Linked DNA regions of Homo sapiens: region 1 is linked to region 2. The links are contacts of gene promoters, found by promoter capture Hi-C in human tissues and cell types (Jung and others, 2019). All regions are on one chromosome and are shown on one strand. The core of a region is centred on a gene start or on the middle of the fragment in contact, and the rest is flanking DNA. Distances in the headings are between cores, read along the strand shown.

The links. Contacts are between HindIII fragments. The study calls those that stand out against the background at their distance.
Region 1: a fragment that was not itself captured here is called in contact with the fragment with the promoter of PHYHIPL in region 2 in 1 of the 25 tissues and cell types used here (dorsolateral prefrontal cortex).

The regions. Positions count from the first base shown.
Region 1 is chr10:59,021,812-59,025,296 of GRCh38, forward strand. It overlaps LOC102724768 (a long non-coding RNA gene), which reads left to right. Exons shown (of 3, transcript XR_428752.5): 2 at 758-831. Among named protein-coding and RNA genes, the nearest start is that of LINC00844, 24 kb to the left of the region's middle. The HindIII fragment of the contact is 4,949 bases long and covers 1-3,485 here.
Region 2 is chr10:59,174,988-59,178,136 of GRCh38, forward strand. PHYHIPL (phytanoyl-CoA 2-hydroxylase interacting protein like) reads left to right here and starts at 1,656. Exons shown (of 5, transcript NM_032439.4): 1 at 1,656-1,972. The coding sequence starts at 1,867. It overlaps CCEPR (cervical carcinoma expressed PCNA regulatory lncRNA), which reads right to left and starts at 1,477. Exons shown (of 1, transcript NR_131782.1): 1 at 1-1,477. The HindIII fragment of the contact is 6,557 bases long and covers 1-3,149 here.

The sequences.
Region 1 (3,485 bases), core at 215-2,714, 150 kb before region 2:
ACACATACAATCACATGCACATTAACACACATTGTTTTTTCTTAATGCTCATGCATATAAAAGCAATGAAGAAAGAGAGGCGTAGAGGTAACATGGAGTCAAGGCTTCCAAGGTTGTTTTCTCACTAATTATGTGTGGCCTTTGGTAAGTCTCTCTGAAAAGTGATGTCTTAGTGTAGTACATTGTTATATGATTTAAAAGATTGGATGTTGAAAAGTTAACTCAAAATTTGATAACGCTATTCTTCTATTGAAGATCCACTATGAGCACCAAAGATCTGGGAAGTGGAGAGAATAAAACCCTAATCCAGGACAGCTTTAGTTTTTCTTGGGGCTCATGATCAGTTTACTATTTCAGCTTGTCAAATAAAGCCCAAGAGGCATTTTTAAGCTTGGAAAATGCAATTCAATAGGGAATATCATTACACAAAGTTGATAACTTTTTTTGTCTTTTCCTTCTCTTTTTTCAATGCATGTGTACGCGCATGCGTGAGTGTGTGATTATAATCCTCTCGATTTAGTCAGGGCCCATCAGCAGCCTGTGGCTTTCCCCTCACTCATCTTGTATCATTTCGTACCCGATGAGCAATCCCTACTTTACCGATAATTTCAAGCAGATGAGAGAAAAGGGTAGAAACAGCCTCAGAGAACACACAGCATTTTGCTTTAAAAATTCCTGCTCTGTATTTAGCTTTTAGCTAAATCCTCTCTCCCTCTGAATATTTCCCACATGTAGGCAATTTTGCTTTTCTTTTCAGTTTTAAATGCCGCAACTCAGCAAGAAAAAAAAAGTGTCTGGTATCTTCCTGAACAACTACCTGGTATTATACAGGTGAGATAAATTGTGATGCCACCAAATGTCCTATATATAAACGTATGGACATATATTCTTTTCTGAAAACTGTATTTATACTGCATAATTTCTATCTTATATTTTCATGAATGGTGCCTGTTCATTTCCTTATATCATTAAATACACTTCAAGAAAACGTCATTTCCAGTGGACTCCCAACAAGAGCATAAACTTTTGATGTCAGAAAAACAGCGCAGACATGATCTGGACTCTGGGATATGTAAGATGACCCTCGTCTTAGGAGGCCACATGGACTGTATCACGTACACAGTATATGAGGAAGCTGAGCTTTCCCTAGGGAAACAAGAAAAAGAGTGGAAACTTAACATTGTCCTATTTTTGTGCTTTACATTTATTATCCTACTTAGTGCTTCCCCAAAACTTAGAAACTGTTATTATCTCATTTTACATAGGAGGAAACTGTGACTTAGAGAGATGAAGATACCTTATATATAGATCTTGGATTTGGGACCAGAACTGCCCTAGTCTAGACCTTAGTTCTTTCTATTTCACCATTCTGCTTCTCTGAGAGGTAAACGACATCTTAAAATCAAGTCAGATAAAATGCTTTATACAACTACATGAAGAAAAAATTTAAATTTTATGAGTGGAATAGGACATTTGGTTACTCGGAATCAGGGAGATAATGCAATGTTCTTATGCTTCATGTTTAATTCCCTGAAGCTTAAAAGGGGAATCTTGAGGACAAGTAGGGCAGTCTCTCTTTCCTTAGGTCGGGAATCAGGGAGAAATGAAAAAGGATAGAGTGGGTGTGGAGATAATGGTAGCTCAGTCTAGGAGAAATGGAGCCCGCTCATCTCTACATGAACTAAATACTGGCAGAGATTGAGAATTTTTGTATATCCTGCATCACTTTTAAAAAGTAGATCACTTCTAACAATATAGGATTGAAGACAATAAGAGAGGCCTAGGGGTCTTTTAATCTATATTAGCTAAATGTCTTTGATAACATTTAATAAACTTGGCAATGAAGTTCTGGGTGCTGTTAATATTAAATCATGATTTCTTAAAACATTTTTAAACATTTTATTTGCTTGGTTTGTATTTTTCCCTTTTGTATCTTGACCAACTCTTTCTAGCTGGGCTTGACTTTCTGCCACCACCAAAGAGCAGGGCAAGTACTCAAGTAAGTAAGCTACTAAGAAGGCCAGTGACCCAAGCCACCAGGAGAATCAGCTACCCATCTCCACTCCAGGGTTTCTGCCATTCAGTGACCGTGTCAGGTAGGACAGGCAATTACAGACATCACTATACTCATGCCTCTCCTTAAGCTAATGGAAAACAGGCAAGGATGATGCCCAAGAAGGTCTCAAATGTGTTACTCAGGCATCATCTTTTATTCATAGTGCAAACGTTTTTGGTAACAGGGACCAACTCCCCTGAAACCTACTACAGCCCTTCAAGACTTCTGTATAATTCTTTCTCCTTTATCAAGCCTGTGTACCCAGTATAGGGTAGTGGAGGCATGCTGTTCTTACTCACTAGCTCATTTTTGCCTAATTCTACCATCTTAATATATTTAATCCTTCCAAAAAAGTCATAAAGTATTCTAAGCATAGATAACCACATGAATTATGCCTTTTACGTGTAGAACCTAATAGAAGATACATTTCTCATTCATATTGCCTACAATAACACTCTTTCTCTACAAGGATACAATCAATAACACCATTACCCTCTCCATTCACTGATCCCAAACTAAGGGGAAAGGTCACTATGAGCCAGGGAAATCAGAGAAACACCAGGGGGCACAGTGCAAGGCCTGGGATAAAACTAGGAGCATTGGGACAATTCCTGAGGTGGGCTTTCTGTAATGAGAAGAGACAACTGTGACAGGGACTTCCTTTCTATTTGGGAATGTCCTTAGCAACCTATAGCTGCCTTGCCCCACCGACCCCATCCCACCTACTCCTGTTCTTTTCCCTAAATGGCTCCTGCTGGCTGTAATGGTAGCCTTGGCAGATGACAGGGTCAAGAGATGTGCACAATTATACAGTCCTTCTTCACCCCTGTCTGAGTTCTTACATAACCTCCTAGTCTCTCGGGATGAGCAGAACATCCTGTCAAAAGCAAGAGGTATCAGAGAAGGAGGCAAAGAAGGGTTACAGGTCAGACTCTCTGGTTACCTTGAGCCTTGCCACTAATTTCCATCATCTGGGATTTTTCTTAACTTTCTTCCTACCTAGACTGCCCTGGCTCCAGAGGCATTCATATCTCTATGCCTCAGACAGCAATTATAATGAGCTGCAGGCATGCAGGTCAAGGAAGAATTGACAAGAGTAGCCTCATATAAGGACAAGCTATGAGAGAGATAACAAAGGGTTTTCTTTACTCCAAAGCACCATTTTATTTCTAGTAAAAGTTCAGTTACTCAAATTCAGCACCTAGATATATACCCCAAAGTAATGAAAACAGAGGCTCACACAAATATTGGTATATTAATGTTCACTGCAGCTTTATTCACAATAGTTAAAAAATAGAAACAACCCAAGCGTCCATCAACAAATTCATGTATTAAAAATGTGGTATATGTGTATAATGAATATTATTCAACAATAAAAAAGAATGAAATTTTATATATGCTACAATATGGAGGAGCTTTAAAAACATTA
Region 2 (3,149 bases), core at 406-2,905:
ATTGTTATTCTAGTTTACACAGTTCCTTTTTTTTGAGATTTATAAATTTGAGACTACTCTAAAAAATGAACCCACTGTTGGGCTTACAATACCAATTTCTAGTTCTACAGAGCCAGGCTTTCGAACACAGAAAATTCACCAGTAAGTACTTTCTTGTCATATCCTTTGACAGGTAATAATTTACCCTCTCCTTGGGGACACCCCTACCTTAAGACAAGAATTCTTTCAAACTTCAAAAACATCCATCTTCATTAATAAGTTCATAATGAAGACTTTTCACTTTAAGATGCCTAATTATCTTTCACAGATATTTATGAAATTTCAATTGTGCCAAGATTTTTCACAGGCTTATTTTACTTTAAGCTGGTCCTTCCATTTATTGAAGCTTCAATTAATTAGACTTCATCATGTTATAGCTAAATGGATGTGACTAGAAAGAGCAGCATACAGACATCTATGTGTAAACTGTTACTTGTTGGTTAACATTTATGTTTGAAATGGAAAATCAATAAAAGGGAACTTATATTAATTTATAAGCACATTAAGAAAAGAGGGGACACTATTTTTGATCCCAAGATAGCAACAAAACTAAAAACTTTTCCAAAGAAGCAAACGGGAACAGAGGTCAATAGGCTGTGACCTCTATTTTATGTTTAAAACGTTTGCACATCCACTAAGTGCACTGCAGAATCTTAAATGCAATTAAAATCAATGGGCATACAAGTTATAGAGTAGCTTGAGGAAGCACAAGTCAATCTTCATTAGCTATTGTAGCAAAGATTCCTTCCAAATCCATGGGAGCAGGTGCTGTTTATACTCCCTTCATTGACGCCCAGAACAATGGCATAGGGTGAGCATTGAATACTTATTTGCTACGCGCATGAATGAATGAAGCTACGCTGCGAAGGCAGACTGCGTGGCTGCTGGTCCCGTGGCTGCTGGCCCCGCAGCATGTCTGCCGCCTTTTCAGCAGGCTTGCTGCATCTCCTCATTCCCTCACCTTTCTGGCAGTAAGGAGTTCCCACGTTTGCCCCGCTTCAGTGTCGTGGACTGGCAAAATGCTGTCTCTAAACCCCTCCACGCCTCAGGTAATCCGCTCATTTCTCACACAGACGCAGCTGTTTCCGAGGAATGTCCGGCCGAGCCCGCAGGGTGCGGGCAGCGAGTATCCTGGGACCTTCAGGGGAGGAGGTGGCTCCCACACCCCAATACCGTACAGAGAGTCCGAAGAGTCCGGGCCCTTATTTTTCCAATTCTTGGTAAACAACAAACATGCTCGCCCTCGCCTCCCCGTGCAGACGCCTCAGGGCCAACTCGGGCTTCGCCAGGCACCGAGAGCAGACAGAAGACGCCAAATGGCTATCACCAGGAGAGAGGGCGAGGCAGCCGCGCGGCGTATAGCGCTCGCCCTTCCCGCGCGCTCGGTCGCCCGACGCCTCACGCGCGAGGTTGCCTTGGCAGTGGCTGGAGGGCAGGTGGGGGCGCGTGCGCGCAGAAGGGCGGGGGAGGGACCACCGCGCGCCAGCAGGTGGGCGCGTTCTCCCGCGCGCGTGCGCGCGTCGAAGCCCTATACATCACGTTCCCCGAGAGCAGCGTCCCCTCCCCGCCGGGAGCGCGCGCCTCCCATCCTCGCGCCGGGTCCTGCTCGGTCTCTCAGAGCCGCACACTCCGCGGAGCTCCTGCCACAGCCGTCGCCTTCGCGGCGGCTCTCCAGCCCCGCGCCTCAGCCTCGGCGCCGCATCACCGCGTCCCAGGCCTCCTTCCCTCCCTCTGCCACTCCCCCTCCCTTTCCCGCTCTTCTTGCCCACCCGGCCGGCAGAGAGAGCCTGGATACGAAGCAGGCGGGCTTCAGAGTGGGTTGGAAAAATGGAGGTGCCGCGCCTGGATCATGCCCTCAACAGCCCCACCAGCCCCTGTGAGGAGGTGATCAAAAACCTCAGCCTGGAGGCCATTCAGCTGTGCGACCGGGACGGTAAGAGCGGCCGGGACCGCGAGGAAAGGGACAGAGTTCGCGCCGAGGCGCCGGGGCCACTCTGGCTCCGCCGACGCCGCTCGCCAGGGCGGCAGGGTCTTTTGTTGTCCCCTCTGTGCAAATAAATGCAGATGTGGGTTACCCTCCGCCCACCGCCCTCCCCTCACCCCAGAAACAAAAGGACCCCGGGGCTCGCGCCTTGGCGCGGAAAGTAGCCGTCCACAACCGTGGCGCCCTTCGCCGCCTTCGCCCGCCTGGCCCGGACGAGGGCGACGTTCCCGCTCGCGGCTCCTGCCCCGACGAGGCGTTTCCGATCTTTGCCGCAGTCCGGATTTCCTGGGTCTCTGGGCACTGAAGGGGAAATGCCCTCGGGATGTTTCTAGCAACCCCCTTCCCCCAACACACACACACTAGTTGGCATTCTCTTCCAGAAACTTATCATTTTCTTTTTTAAACCTCCCATCCTCAGACTCCCCAAATTAACAAGTCTTTTTAGCCTCTTGGATTGGGATTAGGATGACAGTTTTTCAGTGAGGGCGCAGAAAAACAGTGCATTTCAGCACCAAGGACAGACACAATCTTCATGGTTCCTGGGCTCTGAGTCAGACTGTCGAAAATATTGGCCTAATATATGTGCTGTGATTCAGACTTTGTGGCGAGTACGTACCATTGCGTGTTGATATTATATCGTTTATTCTGTTGTTGAAGTTGGCAGGCTCCTGTGGAAGGAAATTGATTGAATACAGGTCTGAGCGTTGAAGACATAAGCTAGTGCTGTGTGCGGTGTGGTTAGTTACAGTGCTTCTGGGTTAGCTGGACTAGTTAGAGTCTGCTACTTTAGTAATGTGGTACAAAACTTCATTTGTAAAGAAATCATTTGATTAGTAATTGGTTGGCCGAATAATTGTAAAATTCTACATCTGACAAAGGAAACACAGTTCACATGTTGTTAAGAGGGCCCCAAATACTTTTGACTGTAAATGAAATTAATGTTTAACTGTATATAGAGGTAATGATTGTAAAACATGTCTTTAACCAAAGTTATGTACAGATACTAATACGCTCACAGTAAGGTCATAAAATTTATCAGCCTAATCCAAATAGGGAGCAGAGGTCTTGTTTCCAAAGTCATTTAAATGGTAATCACTTGGTTACGCATTGCTATTCAGCACGTTTA